2 separate regions of the Homo sapiens genome follow, and region 1 is linked to region 2. The links are contacts of gene promoters, found by promoter capture Hi-C in blood cells and fetal thymus (Javierre and others, 2016). All regions are on one chromosome and are shown on one strand. Each heading gives the region's core, a stretch centred on a gene start or on the middle of the fragment in contact. The rest is flanking DNA. Distances are from core to core; before and after follow the strand shown.

Region 1 (7,293 bases), core at 3,192-5,691, 270 kb before region 2:
GTGATGGATCAGGGCCTCAGGGGACTACCAACCACCCATGACGAACCCCTTCTCAGTACCTGGTCATGGAGTATTACGTGGGCGGGGACCTGCTGACACTGCTGAGCAAGTTTGGGGAGCGGATTCCGGCCGAGATGGCGCGCTTCTACCTGGCGGAGATTGTCATGGCCATAGACTCGGTGCACCGGCTTGGCTACGTGCACAGGTGGGTGCAGCATGGCCGAGGGGATAGCAAGCTTGTTCCCTGGCCGGGTTCTTGGAAGGTCAGAGCCCAGAGAGGCCAGGGCCTGGAGAGGGACCTTCTTGGTTGGGGCCCACCGGGGGGTGCCTGGGAGTAGGGGTCAGAACTGTAGAAGCCCTACAGGGGCGGAACCCGAGGAAGTGGGGTCCCAGGTGGCACTGCCCGGAGGGGCGGAGCCTGGTGGGACCACAGAAGGGAGGTTCATTTATCCCACCCTTCTCTTTTCCTCCGTGCAGGGACATCAAACCCGACAACATCCTGCTGGACCGCTGTGGCCACATCCGCCTGGCCGACTTCGGCTCTTGCCTCAAGCTGCGGGCAGATGGAACGGTGAGCCAGTGCCCTGGCCACAGAGCAACTGGGGCTGCTGATGAGGGATGGAAGGCACAGAGTGTGGGAGCGGGACTGGATTTGGAGGGGAAAAGAGGTGGTGTGACCCAGGCTTAAGTGTGCATCTGTGTGGCGGAGTATTAGACCAGGCAGAGGGAGGGGCTAAGCATTTGGGGAGTGGTTGGAAGGAGGGCCCAGAGCTGGTGGGCCCAGAGGGGTGGGCCCAAGCCTCGCTCTGCTCCTTTTGGTCCAGGTGCGGTCGCTGGTGGCTGTGGGCACCCCAGACTACCTGTCCCCCGAGATCCTGCAGGCTGTGGGCGGTGGGCCTGGGACAGGCAGCTACGGGCCCGAGTGTGACTGGTGGGCGCTGGGTGTATTCGCCTATGAAATGTTCTATGGGCAGACGCCCTTCTACGCGGATTCCACGGCGGAGACCTATGGCAAGATCGTCCACTACAAGGTGAGCACGGCCGCAGGGAGACCTGGCCTCTCCCGGTAGGCGCTCCCAGGCTATCGCCTCCTCTCCCTCTGAGCAGGAGCACCTCTCTCTGCCGCTGGTGGACGAAGGGGTCCCTGAGGAGGCTCGAGACTTCATTCAGCGGTTGCTGTGTCCCCCGGAGACACGGCTGGGCCGGGGTGGAGCAGGCGACTTCCGGACACATCCCTTCTTCTTTGGCCTCGACTGGGATGGTCTCCGGGACAGCGTGCCCCCCTTTACACCGGATTTCGAAGGTGCCACCGACACATGCAACTTCGACTTGGTGGAGGACGGGCTCACTGCCATGGTGAGCGGGGGCGGGGTAGGTACCTGTGGCCCCTGCTCGGCTGCGGGAACCTCCCCATGCTCCCTCCATAAAGTTGGAGTAAGGACAGTGCCTACCTTCTGGGGTCCTGAATCACTCATTCCCCAGAGCACCTGCTCTGTGCCCATCTACTACTGAGGACCCAGCAGTGACCTAGACTTACAGTCCAGTGGGGGAACACAGAGCAGTCTTCAGACAGTAAGGCCCCAGAGTGATCAGGGCTGAGACAATGGAGTGCAGGGGGTGGGGGACTCCTGACTCAGCAAGGAAGGTCCTGGAGGGCTTTCTGGAGTGGGGAGCTATCTGAGCTGAGACTTGGAGGGATGAGAAGCAGGAGAGGACTCCTCCTCCCTTAGGCCGTCTCTCTTCACCGTGTAACAAGCTGTCATGGCATGCTTGCTCGGCTCTGGGTGCCCTTTTGCTGAACAATACTGGGGATCCAGCACGGACCAGATGAGCTCTGGTCCCTGCCCTCATCCAGTTGCAGTCTAGAGAATTAGAGAATTATGGAGAGTGTGGCAGGTGCCCTGAAGGGAAGCAACAGGATACAAGAAAAAATGATGGGGCCAGGCACGGTGGCTCACGCCTGTAACCCCAGCAATTTGGCAGGCCGAAGTGGGTGGATTGCTTGAGCCCAGGAGTTCGAGACCAGCCTGGGCAATGTGGTGAGACCCCCGTCTCTACAAAAATGTTTTAAAAATTGGTTGGGCGTGGTGGCGCATGCCTGTATACTCAGCTACTAGGGTGGCCGACGTGGGCTTGAGCCCAGGAGGTCAAGGCTGCAGTGAGCTGTGATTGTGCCACTGCACTCCAGCCTGGGCAACGGAGAGAGACTCTGTCTCAAAAATAAGATAAACTGAAATTAAAAAATAGGCTGGGCTGGCCGGGCGTGGTGGCTCACGCCTGTAATCTCAGCACTTTGGGAGGCCGAGGCGGGTGGATCACGAGGTCAGGAGATCGAGACCATCTTGGCTAACACGGTGAAACCCCATCTCTCCTAAAAATACAAAAAATTAGCCAGGCGTGGTGGCGGGCGCCTGTAGTCCCAGCTACTCAGGAGGCTGAGGCAGGAGAATGGCGTGAACCCGGGAGGCAGAGTTTGCAGTGAGCCGAGATCGTGCCACTGCACTCCAGCCTGGGCGACAGAGCGAGACTCTGTCTCAGAAAAAAAAAAAAAAAAAAAAAAAAATAGGCTGGACCGCGGCCGGGCGCTGTGGCTCATGCCTGTAATCCCAGCACTTTGGGAGTCCAAGGCCGGTGGGTCATGAGATCAGGAGTTTTGAGACTAGGCTGGCCAACACGGTGAAACCCCGTCTCTACTAAAAATACAAGAAAATTAGCTGGGTGTGGTCTCGGGTGCCTGTAATTCCAGTTACTGGGGAAGCTGAGGCAGGAGAATTGCTTGAACCTGGGAGGCAGAGTTTGCAGTGAGCCAAGATCATGCCACTACACTCCAGTCTGGGTGACAGAGTGAGACTCTGTCTCAAAAAAAAAAAAAAAAAAAAGGGTTGGGCAAGGTGGTTCACGCCTGTAATCCCAGAACTTTGGGAGGCTGAGGCAGGCAGATCACTGGAAGTCAGGAGTTCAAGACCAGCCTGGCCAACATGGTGAAACCCTGTGTCTACTAAAAATACAAAATTTAGCCAGGCTTGGTGGCGTATGCCTGTAATGCCAGCTACTCAGGAGGCTGAGGCAGGAGAATCGCTTGATTGAACCTGGGAGGCAGAGTTTGCAGTGGGCTGGGGTTGTGCCACTGCACTCTAGGCTGGGAGACAGCAAGACTCCATCTAAAAAAAAAAAACAGAACTGGGCTGGGCACAGTGGCTTATATTTGTAATCCCAGCACTTTGGGAGGCTGAGGTTGGAGGACTGCTTGAGCCCAGAGTTTGGGACTACAACAGCTGAGGTAGGCGGATCACTTGAGGTCAGAAGATGGAGACCAGCCTGGCCAGCGTGGCGAAACCCCGTCTCTACCAAAAATATAAAAAATTAGCCAGGCGTGGTAGAGGGCGCCTGTAATCTCAGCTACTCAGGACGCTGAGGCAGGAGAATCGCCTGAACCTGGGAGGCGGAGGTTGCAGTGAGCTGAGATTGCACCACTGCACTCCAGCCTGGGTAACAGAGCGAGACTCCGTATCAAAGAAAAAGAAAAAAGAAAAAATGCTGGAGGGGCCACTTTAGATAAGCCCTGAGTTGGGGCTGGTTTGGGGGGAACATGTAAGCCAAGATCAAAAAGCAGTGAGGGGCCCGCCCTGACGACTGCTGCTCACATCTGTGTGTCTTGCGCAGGAGACACTGTCGGACATTCGGGAAGGTGCGCCGCTAGGGGTCCACCTGCCTTTTGTGGGCTACTCCTACTCCTGCATGGCCCTCAGGTAAGCACTGCCCTGGACGGCCTCCAGGGGCCACGAGGCTGCTTGAGCTTCCTGGGTCCTGCTCCTTGGCAGCCAATGGAGTTGCAGGATCAGTCTTGGAACCTTACTGTTTTGGGCCCAAAGACTCCTAAGAGGCCAGAGTTGGAGGACCTTAAATTTTCAGATCTATGTACTTCAAAATGTTAGATTGAATTTTAAAACCTCAGAGTCACAGACTGGGCTTCCCAGAATCTTGTAACCATTAACTTTTACGTCTGTAGTACACAGAGCCACAGGACTTCAGAACTTGGAAAATATGAAGTTTAGACTTTTACAATCAGTTGTAAAAGAATGCAAATTCTTTGAATCAGCCATATAACAATAAGGCCATTTAAAAGTATTAATTTAGGCGGGCCGCGGTGGCTCACGCCTGTAATCCTAGCACTTTGGGAGGCCAAGGCAGGTGGATCATGAGGTCAGGAGATCGAGACCATCCTGGCTAACACGGTGAAACCCCGTCTCTACTAAAAATACAAAAAAATTAGCCGGGCATGGTGGCGGGCGCTTGCGGTCCCAGCTACTTGGGAGGCGAGGCAGGAGAATGGCATGAACCCGGGAGGCGGAGCTTGCAGTGAGCCGAGATCATGCCACTGCACTCCAGCCTGGGCGACAGAGCAAGACTCCGTCTCAAAAAAAAAAAAAAAAAAGTATTTATTTAGGCCGGGTGTGGTGGCTCACGCCTGTAATTCCAGTGCTTTGGGAGGATGAGGTGGGTGGATCACCTGAGGTCAGGAGTTCGAGACCAGCCTGACCAACGTGGAGAAACCTCATCTCTACTAAAAAACAAAATTAGCCAGGCGTGGTGGCATATACCTGTAATCCCAGCTACTCAGGAGGCTGAGGCAGGAGAATCAGAACCCAGGAGGGGGAGGTTGTGGTGAGCTGAGATCGTGCCATTGCATTCCAGCCTGGGCAACAAGAGTGAAACTTCATCTCAAAAAAAAAAAAAAAAAAGTACTAATTTACAGGCTGGGCATGGTGGCTCACGCTTGGAATCCCAGCACTTTGGGAGGCTGAAGTGGACGGATTGCTTCAGCCCAGGAGTTCAAGACCAGCCTGAGCAACATAATGAGACCCTGTCTCTACAAAAAATTGAAAAAATCGTGCCAGGCATGGTGGTCTGTGCCTGCAGTCCTAGCTACTCAGGAGTCTGAAGTAGGAGAATCACTTGAGCCTGGAGTTTGAGGCTTCAGTGAGCCATGATAGATTCCAGCCTAGGCAACAAAGTGAGACCTGGTCTCAACAAAAGTATTAATTACACAAATAATGCATTGCTTATCACAAGTAAATTAGAAAATACAGATAAGGAAAAGGAAGTTGATATCTCGTGAGCTCACCAGATGGCAGTGGTCCCTGGCTCACACGTGTACTGACACATGTTTAAATAGTGGAGAACAGGTGTTTTTTTGGTTTGTTTTTTTCCCCTTCCTCATGCTACTTTGTCTAAGAGAACAGTTGGTTTTCTAGTCAGCTTTTATTACTGGACAACATTACACATACTATACCTTATCATTAATGAACTCCAGCTTGATTCTGAACCGCTGCGGGGCCTGAACGGTGGGTCAGGATTGAACCCATCCTCTATTAGAACCCAGGCGCATGTCCAGGATAGCTAGGTCCTGAGCCGTGTTCCCACAGGAGGGACTGCTGGGTTGGAGGGGACAGCCACTTCATACCCCAGGGAGGAGCTGTCCCCTTCCCACAGCTGAGTGGGGTGTGCTGACCTCAAGTTGCCATCTTGGGGTCCCATGCCCAGTCTTAGGACCACATCTGTGGAGGTGGCCAGAGCCAAGCAGTCTCCCCATCAGGTCGGCCTCCCTGTCCTGAGGCCCTGAGAAGAGGGGTCTGCAGCGGTCACATGTCAAGGGAGGAGATGAGCTGACCCTAGAACATGGGGGTCTGGACCCCAAGTCCCTGCAGAAGGTTTAGAAAGAGCAGCTCCCAGGGGCCCAAGGCCAGGAGAGGGGCAGGGCTTTTCCTAAGCAGAGGAGGGGCTATTGGCCTACCTGGGACTCTGTTCTCTTCGCTCTGCTGCTCCCCTTCCTCAAATCAGGAGGTCTTGGAAGCAGCTGCCCCTACCCACAGGCCAGAAGTTCTGGTTCTCCACCAGAGAATCAGCATTCTGTCTCCCTCCCCACTCCCTCCTCCTCTCCCCAGGGACAGTGAGGTCCCAGGCCCCACACCCATGGAACTGGAGGCCGAGCAGCTGCTTGAGCCACACGTGCAAGCGCCCAGCCTGGAGCCCTCGGTGTCCCCACAGGATGAAACAGTAAGTTGGTGGAGGGGAGGGGGTCCGTCAGGGACAATTGGGAGAGAAAAGGTGAGGGCTTCCCGGGTGGCGTGCACTGTAGAGCCCTCTAGGGACTTCCTGAACAGAAGCAGACAGAAACCACGGAGAGACGAGGTTACTTCAGACATGGGACGGTCTCTGTAGTTACAGTGGGGCATTAAGTAAGGGTGTGTGTGTTGCTGGGGATCTGAGAAGTCGATCTTTGAGCTGAGCGCTGGTGAAGGAGAAACAAGCCATGGAAGGAAAGGTGCCAAGTGGTCAGGCGAGAGCCTCCAGGGCAAAGGCCTTGGGCAGGTGGGAATCCTGATTTGTTCCTGAAAGGTAGTTTGGCTGAATCATTCCTGAGAAGGCTGGAGAGGCCAGCAGGAAACAAAACCCAGCAAGGCCTTTTGTCGTGAGGGCATTAGGGAGCTGGAGGGATTTTGAGCAGCAGAGGGACATAGGTTGTGTTAGTGTTTGAGCACCAGCCCTCTGGTCCCTGTGTAGATTTAGAGGACCAGACTCAGGGATGGGGCTGAGGGAGGTAGGGAAGGGAGGGGGCTTGGATCATTGCAGGAGCTATGGGGATTCCAGAAATGTTGAGGGGACGGAGGAGTAGGGGATAAACAAGGATTCCTAGCCTGGAACCAGTGCCCAAGTCCTGAGTCTTCCAGGAGCCACAGGCAGCCTTAAGCCTGGTCCCCATACACAGGCTGAAGTGGCAGTTCCAGCGGCTGTCCCTGCGGCAGAGGCTGAGGCCGAGGTGACGCTGCGGGAGCTCCAGGAAGCCCTGGAGGAGGAGGTGCTCACCCGGCAGAGCCTGAGCCGGGAGATGGAGGCCATCCGCACGGACAACCAGAACTTCGCCAGGTCGGGATCGGGGCCGGGGCCGGGGCCGGGATGCGGGCCGGTGGCAACCCTTGGCATCCCCTCTCGTCCGGCCCGGACGGACTCACCGTCCTTACCTCCCCACAGTCAACTACGCGAGGCAGAGGCTCGGAACCGGGACCTAGAGGCACACGTCCGGCAGTTGCAGGAGCGGATGGAGTTGCTGCAGGCAGAGGGAGCCACAGGTGAGTCCCTCATGTGTCCCCTTCCCCGGAGGACCGGGAGGAGGTGGGCCGTCTGCTCCGCGGGGCGTGTATAGACACCTGGAGGAGGGAAGGGACCCACGCTGGGGCACGCCGCGCCACCGCCCTCCTTCGCCCCTCCACGCGCCCTATGCCTCTTTCTTCT
Region 2 (7,235 bases), core at 2,667-5,166:
TTGTAAGGATTAAAAGAGATAATGGACAAAAAGCCCTAAACGCAGGAACTGTAACTTGGTACACGCTCCACATGAAGGAGAGAGCTTCCCATCACCAGAGGTAATCAAGCATGGTGAATCCGGTTTTCACAAAACTTGCAGTCTTACCCTTCCCTTCACTGTCCCCTGAACCCAAGACTTAGCCCATACCCTCCTTATACCATAAAACCTATGATACATATACACCACCCTTCCAAACGACAAATCTTCTTTTGTCGGGGATGGGGCTACTCTAGTCCCTTCCTCCTGGTGGGCCTCAGTTTCCCATAAGTGAATAGGAAGATAAATGTTGCAGCTTCGGTTTCATTTGGCTTATCTGAATTATCTTAAGAGTTTTCACAGTGAAAGCACGTTCCTTTTTTTTTTTCTTTTTCTTCATTAAGAACACGGAAAGCATGTTATCTCTATTTTTTTTTTTTTTTTGAGACAGGGTCTCACTTTGTCACCCAGGCTGGAGTGCAGTGGCAAGAATATGACTCATTGCGGCCTCAACCTCCCCAGCTCAAACGATCCTCTCGCCTCAGCCTCCAGAGTAGCTGGAACTACAGGCGCATGCCACCACACCCAGCTAATTTTTGTATATTTTGTAGAGACGGGGTTACACCATATTGCCCAGGCTGTTCTCAAACTCCTGGGCTCAAGCGATCCTTCTGCCTTGGCCTCCCAAAGTGTTAGGATTACAGGCATGAGCCCCGGCGCCTGGCCCTGTTTGAGTTTAATAGGCACCTTGCCTAACTTTCCTGTGCCTCAGTTTCCCCATCTATAAACTGAGTACCGGGGTGGGGAGGCCACAAGGTTGTAATAGTATCATTGTTCGAACTGCCATGAGGGGCCAGGTGTGGTGGCTGACGTCTGTAATAATAACACTTTAGGAGGTCGAGGCGGGTGGATCACCTGAGGTTAAGAGTTCGAGACCAGCCTGGCCATCACGGTGAAACCCTATCTCTACTAAAAATATAAAAATTAGCCGGGCATGGTGGCAGGCACCTGTAGTCCCAGCTACTCGGAAGGTTGAGGAGGAGAATCGCTTGAACCCAGGAGACGGAGGTTGCAGTGAGCCGAGATCATGCCATTTCACAACAGCCTGGGCAACAAGAGCAAAATTTCCGTCTCAAAACAAACAAACAAACCAACAAAAAAACCAGCCAGAATTGCTGTCAGGCACAAAAATGCCCCACATAAAATAGATGCTTGATCAAATGGTCTCTTATTTTTTAAAAATAAAAATAGCTATTATTGGAAGAAGAAAGAAATGGACCCCAGTTCTCCCCAAGTCCCTTCTGCCCTGAGATTCTAGACCTCTGCCTCGCTTCTCTGTCTTCCCAGCACCCCAGCTCCAGTCCCGGACACAGCCAACACTCAACAAATATTTGTCAAACTGGGAGAAAAAGAACTATATCTTGTAATTTTCCATCTTAACATCCTCTCTTCCAACTGCCCCCAGGACTGTCCCCAGCCAAACCAGCCAGAAATCAGAGGATCCTAGGCTCCTCCACCCCTCCAACGTTGCCTAGGAATTTCTGAGGGATCTTGGCCATGTCTTTTTCTCTTTGAGCCTCAGTTTCCCCAGCTGGGTAATAGGGGCATGGGTTTTGAATTCTGGCTGTCCTTGGAGAAGAGGCACAGCCCAGGAAGTCGGGTGTGACCACCTGCAGGGGAGACCCCCTGGAAAGGTGGGAGTGGCCTTTTGGTGGGACAGGCATCTGGTCATTTCTGCACCGCACCCCACCCCAGCACCCCCACAAGACGGGATGCTTGGCCACCACCACAGCAAGAGGTGGGCCTTGTGGGAGGGCCAGGGCTTCCAGGGCTGGTGCTGGTGGTGGTGGTGGTGGTGGGGAGGACAGGGGGCCGGCCCAGACACCGCTCCTGCCCTTTTACGGTTGCAGTGAGTGAGGCAGCACTAACTCGGACATCCGCCATCCGCCTTCCACCGAGCCTGGGACCGGAAACGCGAGGGGGGGTGGAGGGGCGGGGCTGGGGGGCAAGGGGAGAGAAGAGTCCCGGAGGAAGAGGGCGAAGGAAGAGAGCGACGCTCCCTAAACTGACCCCTCTCCAGGGCGGACTTGGAAGGGATGTTGCTATAATGGGGAGCGGATAGGCAGGAAGTCTTGAGGGTATCTGTGGGTGTCCTCCTTGCTCCAAATTTTCCAGCCATGCCTTTCACATCAGAAGGAACAAACGCGGGAGGGGGATTCTCTAGTGGTCATAAAAAGGAATGCCACGCCACTCCGATGTCAAAGGGCAGGGGTTCAGGAAATGCGGGGGATGTGGGCACCACGGGGTTAATCCCCAACCGTCCCCAGGGGCCTCCCTGCTCAGGCTGGGGGCTTTGGGGCAGGAAGTCCCAGAGAGAGTAGAGGAAGGGAGATAGTATTGTCAGGCTCTGGCCCCATGGGAGAGATTATGGGGGGCCAGGGGAGGGAAGAATAGGGGGGATGGTTGGGCCCCCCTGCCCACACTGGCCCCGCCCTCAGGTGAGCCCAGGAGTTCGGGGGAGGCCCCGGCCAGACCAAATCCCTGGGTCCCTTGGGCCGCCACCCCCAGGATTAAATTCCTGGGAAGATAGCTGGAATTATCTGGGAAGCCTGGGTCCCTAGGGAAGAGGGCTATGACCTTGAAGCTTTCCAGCTCCCCCTCCTCCAACCCCAAGGCTCCGGGTGGATAGGGGGACGGTGAGCAAAGGGGGAGGGGCCGTGGTGGGGAAGGCAGCCGGCCTACAGCGCTTGGTGCCCGCCCCCCACACCAGCTGTCTCGACAGGTGAGTCAGGAAGACAAAGGCCCCCTTCCCCCAGCTGCCGCGCCCCCTCCCTCTCCAGGGCCGCGCAGGTGGGGGAGCCGGGCCGCCCTTATGGCCGGAGGCGGGGAGCCGCCCTCTGCTCCGAGCGCCCGCTCGGTCCTAGGCACGGCCAGTTAAGCAGATTGTGTGCGGAGCGACGGGGAAGGGGGGGGTCCCACCAGACTCTGGAGGCTGCGTCCAGGTCCCTGGATCGGTTCACACCAGCCTCCTCCACAGGAAGACCTAAGTGACCCCCAAAATCCAGGGGATTAAGAAGTACCCCCGAAGTTATGGAGCGCGGTCCCACTTGGGGAGACTTTTTCCAGCACCAAGTAAACGGGGGACCTGCACACCCAGGGTCTGAGTCTCAGTCTCTCTTCCAAGTCCCAGGGTATCCCAAATCGGTCCCCCACAATCCTTCCCGGACCTCGAGCTGAAGTCTGGGGGGAGGGGGAGGAGAGTCTGAGCCCTGCCTCAATCCTGGCATCCCTGCGGGGAGTCGCTGCCAACTTTGAGGTCCTCTAAAAAAAGTCTTAACAATTCGGGAGTCCTCCGAGCGCCCCCAAATCTTGAGGGCTCCCAGGAGAACCTCACCGCCACCACCCCCCGAGCTTGGGGAGTCAGTCGTGGAGAAGTGATCGACGGTTCTGGGGCGCGTCCAAGGGGATTCAGCTCAAATCCGAGGCTCCCAAGGATCTGTCCCCAAATTCCAGCCCGGAGCTAGCTGGGGGGGAGGGGGACAAAGGCGGGGCGCGGAGCCCGCCCGGGCGGGGACGGGTCGGGGGGCAGGTCCGGCTCACCTCATGGCTGCTCGGCGGGCGGGCGGCTCGCCCACGGGCTGGCTGCTCCCGGGGCGCCCCTGGCTGGAGGTTCAGGGGTTCGGGGCTGGCTCCGGGCTCGGCTCAGGCTCCCCCAGGGTCCCGCCCCATAGAGTCCGGCTTCCTGGGGAGAATGTGGACCGGGCCGGGGCGGGTCTCCGGGCGCCGCTTCCCTCAGGCGGTCTGATGAGAGGTTCCTGCAGCAGAAAGGGGATGCAGCGTCCGCTCCCCAGCGCGCACCCCTTGCCGGTGGCGGCTACAGTGTTACTCTTACTACTGTACTTCTCTTCGTTACATTTCGTTCCAAAATTCCACTCCCCGCACCCACAATGCCCCGCGCCTTAAAGGGGCCGCGTGCGCCTCCAGGCGAGGGGGTGGAGGGCGCTTAAAAGGGCAACTCTGCACCCTCGGCTTCCGCGATCTCGCTCCTCTCCCCAATGTTGTAGCCCAGGGGTGCACCCTGGGAATCACCCCCACCTGAGGGGCAAGTTGGTGAAGGGGAAGGGGACCTCCCTTGCTTCCTAGTTCGCTCCCACTGTGGGAATTCTGAGGAGGGTCTCGGAAGGGGCGCGATTTCTTTCCCCATCGACTTCTCCATCTCGTACTCCGCTCAATTTTGGGGGTCGAGGAGGACCCTCAAGTTAAGCAAGTGGTCTCAGATTTTCTCCCTGAAATCCCATCTTCGGAACACCGCCCCTCCCCAGCGTTTCTCTTCTGTCAATTTCGGAGAGGTTACTAAGGGGGCGAGACCCCCACCCGCACGGGAGTGGAAGTCGGGGGAGTAGGGCCCAACCCCTCTCACCCCACCCCGCCCGCCCCGGGAAGGTGAGGAGGAAGTGGGCCAAGGGGGCGCGGTCGGTCGCTGACTCACAGCCGCAGGGTCGGGGGTGGGGTGGGGTGGAGGTGGGGACTGGCGAGGAGTGCGGGAGTGGGGGGCCCGGCATTCGCCCGGGGTGGGCAGGAGGCGCCGGCTTCTTTGGTGTGTAAAGCCTCCGGCCCACGCACGCCCCGCTCTGACTCAGTTTCGCCTGCGGAGGACAGCAGGATCATCCCAGCCCTCAGGAGGGCCCGGAGGTGAGGAGACCCTCCCGGGAGCCCCCGCCCCCACACGCCGGCTCCGGGCTGAGCCCAGACACCCTCTGAGGCTTCCGCAGCGTGTCTTGCCGGCCCCGCCCCGAGTGACGTCACTGATTTGGTCGCGCCCCTTGGGTAGAGCGCCACCTGGCCCGGGTGAGGCGCCCGAGCCCTGGGAAATCAGTTAGTTCCACATTTACACACGGGTAAACTGAGGCCTGGAGACAGGGAATGAATCTGGCCTATGGCCCTCTTGCCTGAGCCCCCAGAACCCGGAAAGCCACCAAGGTCTGAGTGTAAAACCAACAATTCTCAGGGCCAGCTGACTATGTGAGAGAATCCACTTTTCCAGCGTATGTCCAAGCCGAGTCCCATGTCCGGATGTTGATGTTGTCCTGACCTCCTTTACCTGGGGAGCACGTCATCCTTCCAGGCCAAGCTTTGACATTAATTCCCCTCCCCTTCTCCACCCCACTCTGGGAGACCTTGAACCCTGTTCCTCGGAGGTTATCATTGTTTCTCAGTGTGTTTCCTCAGGCTGAGTTGTCTGGGAGAATGGGTAGACTAAATTTCTTTTTTTCTTTTTTTTTTTTTGAGATGTAGTCTCTCGCTGTCACCCAGGCTGGAGGGCGCTGGCTCGATCCCCGCTTACTGCAACCTCCCCCTCCTGGGTTCAAGCAATTCTCCTGCCTCACCCTCCTAAAGTAGCTGGGATTACAGGCACGGGCCACCAAGCCCAACTAATTTTTGTATTTTTAGTAGAGATGGGATTTCACCATGTTGGCCAGGCTGGTCTCAAACTTATGACCTCAGGTGATCTGCCTGCCTCAGTCTCCCAAAGTGCTAGGATTACAGGCATGAGCCACTGCACCCAGTTGACTTAATCAATTTCTGGACCTCACTCACCCCAGCCAGGCCCGCCCGGCTCAGCAGCTCAACAAACTTACCTAGTTGAATGAGTTACCAGTTCAGTGTGACCTTGGGTAACTGTGTTCTCCTCTCTGGGTCTCAGCTTTCCCATCTGTGACATAGGAGGGGTGGCATTTCTGGGTGCCACCTACACTACAACAACAGTCAGCAAACATGGTTTTTTGTTTGTTTGTTTGTTGGAGACAGGGTCTTTGTTGCCCATGCCGGAGCGCAGTAGCATAACCAGGGCTCATTCGATCCTCTAACCTCAGCCCACTGAGTAGCTGGGACTGTAGGTCCACACCACCATGCCAGGCTAATTTTTTGTAGAGACAGGGTTTAGCTGTGTTGCCCAGGCTGGTCTCAAACTCCTGGGCTAAAGTGATCAGCCTGGCTCAGCCTCCCAAAGTGCTGGGATTGGAGGTGTGAGTCACCAGGCCCAGCCGGCAAACATTTTCTGTAAAAGTTCAAATAGGAAATATTTTAGATATGCTAGACATAGGGTCTGGTTTACACACTCTTCAGTTTTTCTTTTTTCTTACAAGGCTTAAAAACTGTAAAAAAAACTCTTCTTAGCTTAAGTGCTGTACAAAACAGGTAGCAAGACCCCTGTGTAAGAGAACGCTTGCATATGTACATAACGATCTTTACGGTAGCAGTGATGTGAGAGCAAGAAATTGGAAATAGCTTAAATGTTCATCAAGAGGACAGGGGAGGCTGGGCACAGTGGCTCACGCCTGTAATCCCAGCACTTTGGGAGGCCGAGGCGGGTGGATCACTTGAGGTCAGGAGTTCAAGACCAGCCTGGCCAACATGGTGAAACCCCGTTTCTACCAAAAACAAAAAATTAACCAGGCATGGTGGCACACACCTGTAATCCCAGCTACTTGGGTGGCTGAGGGGCTGAGGTGGGAGGATCACTTGAACCCCGGAGGCGGAGGTTGCAGTGAGCCAAGATCGTGACACTACACTCCAGCCTGGGAGACAGAGCAAGACTCCTCAAAAAAAATTAAACAAAACAAAACAAAAAAAAGATGAGGGCAGGGAATAGTGAAACCCTTGGACATCCTTTTCTGAAGCACGGAGTGAGCAGCAACTTAAGGAGGTGTGGACTGGGCAAGGTGTGTCATGCCTGTAATCCCAGTGCTTTGGTGCTTTGAGAAGCCAAGGCAGGAGGATCACTTGAGGTCAGGGAGTTTGAGACCAGCCTGGACAACATAGTGAGGCCCCATTTCTCTCTTTTTTTTTTTTTTTTTTTTGAGACAGAGTTTCATTCTTGTTTCCCAGGCTAGAGTTCAATGGCGCAATCTCGGCTCACTGCAACCTCCACCTCCTGGGTTCAAGCGATTCTCCTGCCTCAGCCTCCCAAGTAGCTGGGATTACAGGCATGCACCACCAAGCCCAGCTAATTTTTGCATTTTTTAGTAGAGATGGGGTTTCTCCATGTTGGTCAGGCTGGTCTCGAACTCCTGACCTCAGAAGATCTGCCCACCTGGGCCTCCCAAAGTGGTGGGATTACACGTGTGAGCCACTGCGCCTGGCCGAGACCCCATCTCTAAAAAAAAAAAAAAAATTAACTGGGTGTGGTATCATCCATCTGTGGTCCCAGCTACTTG

Evidence for each region. Contacts are between HindIII fragments. The CHiCAGO score rates a contact against its expected background, and 5 or more counts as called.
Region 1: a fragment that was not itself captured here is called in contact with the fragment with the promoter of VASP in region 2 in 3 of 17 cell types (naive B cells, fetal thymus and naive CD4 T cells); the score reaches 5.7 in naive B cells.

The regions. Positions count from the first base shown.
Region 1 is chr19:45,771,405-45,778,697 of GRCh38, reverse strand. DMPK (DM1 protein kinase) reads left to right here. Exons shown (of 15, transcript NM_004409.5): 5 at 57-205; 6 at 478-571; 7 at 825-1,031; 8 at 1,108-1,371; 9 at 3,664-3,749; 10 at 5,946-6,057; 11 at 6,770-6,927; 12 at 7,033-7,130. DM1-AS (DM1 locus antisense RNA) reads right to left here. Exons shown (of 2, transcript NR_147193.1): 2 at 6,815-7,208. Among named protein-coding and RNA genes, the nearest start is that of SIX5, 5.8 kb to the right of the region's middle. RefSeq lists enhancers at 990-1,723, 6,550-7,107. The HindIII fragment of the contact is 8,405 bases long and covers 239-7,293 here.
Region 2 is chr19:45,504,160-45,511,394 of GRCh38, reverse strand. VASP (vasodilator stimulated phosphoprotein) reads right to left here and starts at 3,916. Exons shown (of 13, transcript NM_003370.4): 1 at 3,619-3,916. The coding sequence starts at 3,623. It overlaps LOC107985314 (a long non-coding RNA gene), which reads left to right and starts at 4,021. Exons shown (of 2, transcript XR_007067269.1): 1 at 4,021-4,710. RefSeq lists silencers at 1,852-1,981, 2,792-2,991, 3,586-3,765, 4,446-4,575, 4,606-4,855 and enhancers at 3,916-4,185, 3,467-4,251. The HindIII fragment of the contact is 2,487 bases long and covers 2,665-5,151 here.